Linked DNA regions of Homo sapiens: region 2 is linked to region 1. Evidence: promoter capture Hi-C in 16 types of primary human blood cells and fetal thymus (Javierre and others, 2016). All regions are on one chromosome and are shown on one strand. Each heading gives the region's core, a stretch centred on a gene start or on the middle of the fragment in contact. The rest is flanking DNA. Distances are from core to core; before and after follow the strand shown. Region 1 holds the start of FUCA2 (alpha-L-fucosidase 2). Region 2 has its middle 26 kb from the start of PLAGL1.

What was found. The method cuts DNA at HindIII sites, captures the fragments that hold promoters and counts their contacts. A CHiCAGO score of 5 or more calls a contact.
Region 2: a fragment that was not itself captured here is called in contact with the fragment with the promoter of FUCA2 in region 1 in 1 of 17 cell types (M0 macrophages); the score reaches 6.4 in M0 macrophages.

Annotation. Positions count from the first base shown.
Region 1 is chr6:143,508,453-143,513,808 of GRCh38, forward strand. It overlaps FUCA2 (alpha-L-fucosidase 2), which reads right to left and starts at 3,268. Exons shown (of 7, transcript NM_032020.5): 1 at 2,959-3,268. The coding sequence starts at 3,182. LOC105378035 (a long non-coding RNA gene) reads left to right here and starts at 3,333. Exons shown (of 4, transcript XR_007059796.1): 1 at 3,333-4,324; 2 at 4,542-5,356. RefSeq lists a silencer at 2,501-2,704 and enhancers at 2,905-3,567, 3,127-3,256, 3,367-3,546, 3,568-4,228. The HindIII fragment of the contact is 2,651 bases long and covers 1,593-4,243 here.
Region 2 is chr6:144,031,391-144,036,746 of GRCh38, forward strand. It overlaps a transcript of PLAGL1 not described here and the pseudogene LOC100131041. Among named protein-coding and RNA genes, the nearest start is that of PLAGL1, 26 kb to the left of the region's middle. RefSeq lists an enhancer at 5,171-5,220. The HindIII fragment of the contact is 1,199 bases long and covers 2,216-3,414 here.

The DNA of each region.
Region 1 (5,356 bases), core at 2,018-4,517:
ACTCTGCTAAGAAGAAATAATTGAAGGGCATACTATGCGGCAGGCATGCTGTTTGCCTGCCCAAAAGTCGTATTTACGTAATTTCCCAGCTTCCACTACAGCTGCGACAGGGATGTGAGATCCATGCTGGCCAAGGGAACTTGAGGGAAAGCCAACTTTGGGGACTGTGGAAATGGTTTCCCTCCTAATGAAAAGAGACACTGGCCTTCCTGCCTTTGGGCAGGGTTGTGTGAAGTTATGGTGCCTGGCTGCCATCCTGTGACCATGAAGGGACAAGTCCCCAGGCTGAGGATGAAAGAAAGAGCCCGTGTCTTTGATTTCATCAATGAACCGACTACTCTAAATTTCCTGTTATGTGAGATAACAAGCCCCTATCATTATACCTTTTAGTTGGGTTTAAAATCCTTGAAGCATTTTTATTATTTATTTATTTATTATTGATTAATTGATTGGTTGAGACAGGGTCTTGCTCCATTACCCAGTTTGGAGTGCAGTGTCATGATCATACCACACCACAGCCTTGAACTCCTGGGCTCAAGCGATCGTCCCACCTCACCCTCCTGAGTATCTGGGACTACGGGCATTACATTTTAAATTGAACTGCAAAAGAGAAACTGGGACATTCAGAAAGTTGAACAAGAATAAGGAATTTCTCCTAGCATCATCTAATTTGAACCTGCACTGTCCCCTACAGTCTAGACTTGAATTTCATGCTGAGAGATGAAAAGAGGCATTTATGGTAAAGGTCTATCATTTATATTTGGTTTTTAATAGACATTTAAAACAGTCACATATACTCATCTATACTGTTGATTCCCCGAAAGTCAAATTGAGAGTGAGGAGCAGAGGATACAAAGGGAAATCACAGGTAATTAAAGAATCTTCCACAGGGTTAATGCATTTTCAGATCATCAGGAATCTGTTCTCTATTTTGTTTAGTATGAGAAGTATCTTTATTATTCTAGGTCAAAATAACCATGGGTTTATCTGTAGAAAATGAAGTTATTCATAGCAAAGAATAAAATGACTCAAAACTAGCTGTTTTATTTTGGCATAGTACTAGTCTCAGTCAAAAATGTCAAATCCTCTTTGGCACCAATATATCTTTACCTAATCTTCATGGTTGAACAAAATGATAATATAAGATACAATTTAGGGGGAAGAAAGTTGTTAATTATGTACCACACTAATCTAAAATATTTCCAAAACAAGCTCAAGATTCCTTACAGCCCAAAACATGCAAATAAAGATTTGTAACATCTTTTTGAAGTAGCTATGTTTTGGCATAAGAATAAAGAGTCTCTGTTTTAGAAGGTGAATTATTTAAAATATGAATAATTCTCCATAGCTTATCCAGTTTTATTTTTTACATCAATTGACCTACCAATAAGAAAGGTTACTGGTTGCAGGTAGTCAATTTCTTTGTCATGAAAGGGTTAAAATATGCTATTTTGGCACATTTTTAAAGGTAAAGAAACTCGAAAAATAGCAGGTGCATGAAGAGCACTTTGCCCTTTGTGCTGTTTCTTAGGAGAGAAGATGAAATTCCAGTATGAAAGGCACTCTGTACTAGAAGGAAAGGCAACATCCTAAGCTTCAAAGACAAGAAGTAGAATACTGTACAGAACTTGCTAAAATTTATTATTTAAGTCTCCCCACATAATTTAGTCACACAATGTCAATTTAATTCTTGGACCCAGCAGAGACCCTAACAGAATGGAGGTGTAATTTTTCTACCCCTAGAGTAGAGCATGGTACCATGTATACTATGTAATGTTAATATAATATATAGTTCATACTCTGTATTGTGTCTACTAAATATAGTATGTTAATTTGGATGTATACTATTTATGTAGTATATAGTTGATTCAAATAAATACTGTTTAATGATTCCGTTCTTTTACTTAAGAATATATTATGTGTCCCAAAGTCCTGGAATTACAGGTATGAGCCACCGCGGATCACCTGAGGTCAGGAGTTCAAGACCAGCCTGGCTAACATGGCAAAACCCCGTTTCTACTAAAAAATACAAAAAAATTGGCCAGGCATGGTGGCGTGCGCCTGTAGTCCCAGCTACTCAGGAGGCTAAGGCGCGAGAATCGTTTGAACCCGGGCGGCGAAGGTTGCAGTGAGCCGAGATGGTGCCACTGCACTCCAGCCTGGGTGACAGAATGAGACTATGTCTCAAAAAAAAAAAAAAAAGAATATATTATGTGTATGTTTCTATATATGCACACAAAATATTTCTGTTTTGAAGGACTTAATACTTGTAGCATTTAGTCAGAAAAGACATGTGCAACAGTTTAAGAAATTACATGCACATTTTCACATAGATCTCAAGGTAAAATCTAACGCACAGATTTTTGTGTAGCACCTTTCATACGGCAGTATGATAACTGGGTTGTGTTAAGAGTACCATTCTAGAACCTCTTTAAAAAGTTCCTAGAGCCACACATGGGTAACATGTTAACATTAAGTAGCCAATGGTGTTCAATGAACAGTCGTTTCACATACTCATGACTATGTTTTAACCATAACTTCATGGCAGAACGACTGTAAATTGGCAGGTAGCAGCAGAGCAACCATAGGCCATTGTGCCTGAGTCACCGCTCGTGTGATGCCCCTGCACAAACTGATGAATGTCTGTAGTAGCTCGATGTTGTAGTGTCATAACTACAGCTTAATATGCGCAACTATGAAGAAGCTGAGGAGTCAGGAGTATCTGAAAACTCTTACAGTCACACGGAAGAAAAATTCCCTGTTCATCCAGCAGAAGCACTTAGGCAGGAAACCACATATTCGACACCCGGAAGTGCGAAACGCGGGTAACGCAGTGGGAGGTGAAACCGACGAGGGTGCAGGCAGCACCAGGCGGCGAACCAGGCCCGCTGGGTGGTGGCTGGAGGCTGCGGGTGGGGACAAAAGCGCGGCAGACGAGACAAAAGGGAGCGCACTCACCAGAACCACTCGCTACCGAAGCTGGGCACGGAAAACACTCCCCAGTGGATGAAGATGCCGAACTTGGCCTGGTCAAACCACGCGGGCAGCTGGCGGGCGTCCAGGGACTCCCAGGTGGGGTCGAAGCGCGTGGCGCTGTGGGCAGGGCACGGCGGCGGCGGCAGCAGCAGCAACAGCAACAGCAGCAACGGGAACGCGAGCCTGGGGAGCTCCTGGGGCCGCATGTCCCGGCGCAGGCCGGCTGTCCTCTCTGCAGGCTCCCGCGGCCTCGGGAGCGCTGTTCTTCCGTCTCTGCCGCTGAGTATGCCGCGCCGCGGTCACCTGACCAAGTCGGACTTGGAAACCGGCCACCCTTCCCCCTCTGGGGCGGGAGTGGCCACTCTCCCGGGCGTTCCGAATGACCTCAGGAGGGCTGCATCGCTCAGCATAACTAAGGCCAGCATTACCCCAAAGCCAGCTGGGACGGCTTTGCTAAGGCTCTGTCCTCTTGAGGGGAAAATATGAGTCTGAGTCAGGGCCTTGTGGCCAGCGCCTCTGCCCTCAAGCAGACACGACCCTGACCAAGAAACTGCCCAAGAAGACAATGCCCCCAGCCCACCCTGGTGGCTGCTCCACACGTCCGAAGCGTGCACGAGAAGGTCAAGGCAGGAACTTCAGCCGGGTCTCGCCATGATGGAACATGGAAAGCAACCTAGATCCTTCTCGGCCTCTGTATCAGCTCCCAAGATCCTGCATGTTAGAACCGTGGTTGTCAACCTTGAATTTGTATCAGATGAAATTCCAAGAGCTTCAGATTCAGCAGTTAGGTTGGGGCCCAAGAATTTGCGTTTCTACCCAGTTCCTACTTCTAGGATGTTCTGATGTTGGGCCGGGCGCGGTGGCTCACTCCTGTAATCCCAACACTTTGGGAGGCCGAGGCGGGCGGATCACAAGGTCAGAAGATCGAGACCATCCTGACTAACACGGTGAAACCCCGTCCCTACTAAAAATACAAAAAATTAGCGGGACGTGGTGGCGGACGCCTGTAGTCCCAGTTACTCGGGAGGCTGAGGCAGGAGAATCGCTTGAACCCGGGAGGCAGTTACAGTGAGCAGAGACGGTGCCACTGCACTCCAGCCTGGGCTACAGAGTGAGACTCCATCTCAAAAAAAAAAAAAAAAAGAAAGAAAACAAAATTGTGATGTTTCTGATTGGTGGTCCAAACTTTCCTGAGAACCACTGCATTGAACAAGGAGATGATCTGAGACAGGTGAAACCAGTGGAATGAATGTTTAAGAAACCTGCAAGCTTGGGAAAAAAGGCCAGCAACTTGGAAAGATTAATCAAAAGGATATTTGGGAAGCTTATCACCTCCACCTCTTGTTTGGTTTGTTTGTTTGTTTGTTTGTTTGTTTGTTTGTTTGTTTTTGAGACAGAGTCTCGCTCTCTCGCCCAGGCTTGAGTGCAGTAACATGATCTAGGCTCACTGCAGCCTCTGCCTCCCGGGTTCAAGGATTCTCCTGCCTCAGCCTCCAGAGTAGCTGGGACTACAGGCACATGCCACTGTGCCAGACTAATTTTTGTATTTTTCTTTTCTTTTTTAGTAGAGACAGGGTTTCACCATGTTGGACAAGCTGGTCTCAAACTCTTGACCTCAGGTGATCTGCCCGCCTTGGCCTCCCAAAGTGCTAGAATTACAGGCATGAGCCACCAAGCCCAGCCTCTCCTCCACCTCGTAAGTGTTTTCAAAGTAAAGCCAGAATCCTCAACTGCTTCTGCCCCCATGAAATCATTACCCTTCAATGAGCCAATTCAAATGCTGCTTCTTTTGTGAAGCTTTCTGCCACCACCCTTCCCTCCCAGAATGTTGTACTTTCCCTGATCTGCTTCATAACACCTCCTTCCAAGCACACATAGGATTTCACGCATCCTCTAGTAGCTAGGTGGTACAGGTCTGATTTCCCATCAGACTGTGAGCTTTTTGAGGGCATTCATAATGACCTTCTTTTCTGTAGTGCCTACAATTACAGCAGAAAAGCAGCACTCAAAATGTTTGTTGAAGCTCTCCAGTGAACTGGGGTTCTAATTATTGAGTGAAGAACTTGACACTAAGTGGCTGTTGCCTGCATTATCCCAACCCATCTCTGCAGAGAGATGGGAGCAGCAGAGGGCGCTGTCACTGCAGGTGTAGGGGCATTTTTCCTCTCCATGACATGCCAGATGGCCCCCCGGGGCCACAGCTCCACCGTAAGAGTCCCCAATTTTGTTTTGTTTTTTTACAGTGAGGGTGTTCTAGAGGAAAGGGCTCAACGAATCCAATTGCAATAGCTCCAGTTTGTGATAAAGATGACAATTTTTTTTTATTTGAGACAGAGTCTGGTTCTGTTGCCCAGGCTGGAGTGCAGTGGCACAGTGTTGA
Region 2 (5,356 bases), core at 1,565-4,064, 520 kb after region 1:
TGCTCTTGGATTCTTGGTCATGAAGTCTTTGTCTAAGCCAAGGTCTAGAAGGATTTTTCTGATGTTATCTTCTAGAACTTTTACAGTTTCAGGTCTTAGATTTAAGTCTTTGATCCATCTTGAGTTGATCTTTGTATAAGAAGAGAGATGAGGATCCAATTTCATTCTCATACATGTGGCTTGCAAATTATCCCAGCACCATTTGTTGAATAGGGTGTCCTTTCCCCACTTTATGTTTTTGTTTGCTTTGTCAATGATCAGTTGACTGTAAGTATTTGGCTTTATTTCTGGGTTCTCTAGTCTTTTCCATTGGTCTATGTACCTATTTTTATACCAGTACCATGCTGTTTTGGTGACTATGGCCTTAGAGTACAGTTTGACGTTGGGTAATGTGATGTCTCCAGATTTGTTCTTTTTGCTTAGTCTCGCTTTGGCTATGCAGGCTCTTTTTTGGTTCCATATGAATTTTAGGATTGTTTTTTCTAGTTCTGTGAAGAATGATGGTGGTATTTTGACAGGAATTATATTGAATTTGTAGACTGCTTTTGGTAGTATGATCAATTTCACAATATTAATTCTACCTATGCATGAGCATGGGATGTGTTTCCATTTCTTTGTGTCATCTATGATTTCTTTCATAGTCATGATGACCTTTTCCCCTTTACCTATTTGGGCACAATGGTTTTTATAAAATATATGGTATATCAAGTTTCTCCCTATAACTTATTGCATTTTTTTTTTTTTGAGACAGAGTATCTATCTCTCTGTTGCCCAGGCTGGAGTGCAGTGACACAATCACAGCTCACTGCAGCCTCAACTTCCTGGGCTCAAGCGATCCTCCTGCCCCAGCCTCCTGAGTAGCTGAGACTCCAGGCATGTGCCACCACACCTGGCTTTTTTTTTTTTTTTTTTTGGTGGAGATGAGGTTTCACTATGTTGCCCAGGCTGGTCTCAAAGTCCTGGGCTCAAGTGATCCTCCCACCTCAGCCCCACAAAGTGCTGGGATTTCAGGTGTGAACCACCATGCCCAGCTACTTATTGCAATTTTTAAGCCAGTTTTTATCTGCCTTCTAATTTTTAGCTTCTTGGCAGAAATTTTAAGTTCTAAGTGGTAAAATAGTGTCATAATTTCTTCTACCTCCTAGTTCAGTTTTGGTTGTGTTTTTGGGGTTTTGTTTGTTTGTTTTTTGAGACGGAGTCTTGGTTTGTCACTCAGGCTGGAGTCAAATGGCACAGTCTCGGCTCACTGCAACGTCCGCCTCCTGGGCTCTAGCAATTCTCCTGCTTCAGCCTTCCAAGTAGCTGGGATTACAGGCGTATGCCAACACGCCTGGCTAATTTTTGTATTTTTAGTAGAGACAGGGTTTCACCATGTTGGCCAGGCTGGTCAAACTCCTGACCTCAAGTGATCCAGTGTGCTGGGATTACAGGCATGAACCACCATGCCCAGCCTACCTAGTTCAATTCTAAGCATTCTTTGGTTGCTACTATGTTCCAGGCAATTACTAAGTAAACCCTGAGAGGTAAGAGATTAAGAGGGACACTATATCGGGGCAATAGACATGTGATAGATAATTCTATATGGCATGATAAGTGATGATGAAGGACCACATGCTATTATGGACACACAGATTTAGGTCACTTAGCTGAACTCAGTAGTAGAGCCCAAGTTTCTAGAAGAAATTATTCATTAGATGAATTTTAGAAAACAGGACATCAGCAAATAAACAAAATGGGAAGAGCATGCTAGGTAAAGGTCATACCACAAGAAGTGCGCAGATATGTGAGTGACATGAGGACTACTGCCTGTAATTGCTAAAGCCTGGAATATACAAAGAATGGTGAGAGACGATGTCAGAGCTACTGCAGGGTCAGCTTGGACTTTTTACCTACAGACCTAGGGCATAATAAATACCAGGTTTAAGCCACTAAGTTTGTAGTAATTTGTCAGGGCAGCAATAGAAAACTAATATGAACTTTGCTGCCTGGAAGTGGTGTGCTGTTGTAACAAATATCTAAAAATGTGGAAAGCCTTGGAATTGGGGAGTGGGTAGAAGCTGGAAGAATTCTGAGAAACATGATGGAAAAACCTAGATTGTCTTCAGCAAACTGAAATACAGACAGGAAAGGTGGTACCAGTGAGAGTTCAGAAGGAAATGAGGAACACATTACTAGAAACTGCAGTAAGGATGATCTTTGTTATATACTAGTAGAAAGCTTAGTGAAATGTGTCCTGTAGTTATGTGGAAAGCCAGAAGTGTAAACAGTGGACTGGGATATTTAGCTAAAGAGATGTCCAAGTTTAGAACTGATCAGGTAACTTAACTACATGCCAGAACAAAGTCCAACACTATTTAAAGGAATAAAACAAAATCCAGCATAAAACAATGTAAAATCACAAGGTCTACCTTCACATCAAAAAATTATCAGGCATGCAAAAAAGCAGGAAGATATGACCCATAACTAGAGAAAAAAATCTGTCAAAAGAAATGGTCTTTTCTAAGTCTGAGGTAATGAGACTTGAACATAAAAGCAGCTATTATAAATGTGCTCCAAACACTCAAGAATGTAGAAGAACCCAAATAGAATTGCTAGAGATGAAAGATACACTATGCAAAATCAAAAACACATGGATGCTTTTACTACACTACAGACATGGTCTCCATGTAGTACATATAAAACTGCAGACTTCAATTTTCCTGGAGTCTTTTATACTGTTAATTACATCTCCATGCAGGGCTGAAAAGAATGACCTGTGTTTACATGTAAAACCACGTTGTTGGAGGAGGGGGTGCCCCAGCTTAGCGAACCCCAGCCTCCCTCCTGGGGTGCCTCATTCCAGGGCTCTTCCATCTTTCTCTAGCTGCCAAGGCCCAGGCTGACAACCCCCCAACCACACCACACCCTCTGGACTGAAGCCTCTAGGCCCCAGATTGCTGACTCAGGCTGCTGGGCACACAGCCCCCAGGCTGACTGGAAGACGGGGCTCACTGCACACTCATCCCAAGGGCAGTGACTTAAGCCTCTCCAGTTTTCCTGTTAACTAAGTAAGCCTCAAGTCCTTTTAGTGTTTGTTTCTCTTCAAGAAAATAAAACACTTATTTGTTTCCTTTGTATCCTCCTCTCATTCAGGGGGTTCAATAAATCATCTGCCAGAAAGGAAGTGTGCAGCTAATTCAGTCCTCCAGCAAAGAAAAGTGGGAGGCCCCGACAAATTGTCATTATGCAATAATGAACCTTGGACAGCCAAAATTTCATCTACAATATCAAACATGGAACTTAACTTTGGAGTTTATTTTATTCTAAAAATCAGGTTTTCCCCCTAGCTTTTAAGATTGAAAAAAAAAATCTTCCTTGGAGGGGACTGTCATCTTACATAGCTGACAGTAATTTTCAGATTTGTGGAGTTTTGCAAGCTTTAAGCAAAGTAGATGAACCAGGAACAAAGCATCAGCTTTGTTTAACATCACTGAGTAGACTAATACTCCTCCCAGAGCCTGATCTAGGACTACAGCTGAAGGCTTTCAGGTTTGGACAAAAATCTTTGAGTATTAACTTGGAAATAAGGTAAATTGATGGATGGGTATGTAATACATTGAGAACAGTTAAATGTTAATGATAGAATCTAGTGGTGGGTATAAGGGCATTCACTGTAAAATTCAACTTTCCTGTACATTTCAAAGTTTTTCATACTAAAATGTTTCAGGGGGTTGGGGGTATATTAGGGTTATCTAGAGACACATAACTAATAGGATAGATGTATATATGAGAGGGAGTTTATTAAGGAGAATTGACTCACACAATCACAAGGTGAAGTCATACAATAGGCCTCCTGCAAGCTGAGGAGCAAGGAAGCCAGTGGTAGATCAATCCAAGCACCAAAAACTCAAAGATAGGGAAGCTCACAGTGCAGCCTTCAGTCTATGGCCAAAGGCCCGAGAGCCCATGGAAAACCACTGGTGTAAGTCCAAGAGTCCAAAAGCTGAAGTACTTGGAGTCTAATGTTCAAGGGCAGCAAGCATCTAGCACGGGAGAAAGATGAAGGCCGGAAGACTCAGCAAATCTGCCCTCCCATCTTCTCCTGCCTGCTTTATTCTAGCCGTGCTGGCAGCTGATTAGATGGTGCCCAACCAGACTGAGGGTGGGTCTCCTCACCCAGTCCACTGACTCAAATGTTAATCGTCTTTGGCAACACTCTGACAGAGATGCCCAGGAACAATGCTTTGCATCCTTCAATCTAATCAAGTTGACATTCAATATTAACCATCACAGGGGGCAAGAGGCTTTGTGTCAAATCCCTGTTGCTATGAGTGGTGAGACTAGAACAAAATGCCCAATACTCAAATTACCTCATTTTCTTGTTTTTTCTTCTTTTTGCCTCTAGATATGATACCTCATTTTTTTAATATGTGTAATGTAGATCATTACTGATCTCATATGGTTGATGAGAAAAATGACAATGTCAAGAACATTTCTGGCACTACTAGAGGCCCTCAAATCAAGGGTAGCCACCTGGTGGGGCAAAGAAACGCAGTTCAGGGATCACTGGAGTGGGCTGGTGAGAAACTTCTTTAAGGAGGTGGAGGAGCAGGGGCATTTCTGGGTTTTATTGTGCCTGGATGGCCATCTGATTACGTGTGGCTTAGCCTGGAAACCCTCAATGCAGGACTCCAACCCCAAGAAAGTGCTTCAAGGACACCCCAGGTGGACCCAGAGGGCAGCTACAAGCCGACTTTTATGCTCTGCCTCCAGAATGACTCCTTCCAATGCTCACTAATGCTTAGGGGCCTGAGGAGAAGTCTTTTATGCCCAGAAATGACAACCACTTCCTCTGACTCTAAGAACAGTCCATTTAGGCTATTTCATCTTTGCCAGTTTCATTTTAGGAAACACAAGCCTTATAACACAATCCTGAGGAAATCAGCTGTGAAATACACAGACTTTGTGCAGAGAAGTGGTGCAAGTGTGCAATGCTTCAGTCTTAGTGACTGAAGACAGCCAGCCCACATGCCCAGTACCAAAGGGGCACATGCTCCACACCAAATGGGCAAAAATTCCACAGCCGAGCCTGCCCAGACAAGGGGACCCGCTACACAACTCCACACCCTCAGCACTTTGTGACAGGACAATTACTGCCGCGTGACAGGACTCCAGTCCTGGGGCTGCTACCGGGTGCAAGTGACATGCTGGAAAGAGCGTGGTAGACATCTAGGGGCCAACTCTAGGAACATGTGTTTCTTATTCAGAATAGCTTTTTGTTTTGTTTGTTTTAACTTGTGAGGCTTCTTCACTACTCAGGGACGAAAGAAAGAGGAAAGAATGGAAAAAGTGAAACTACAGAACAGAAATTGTGCAA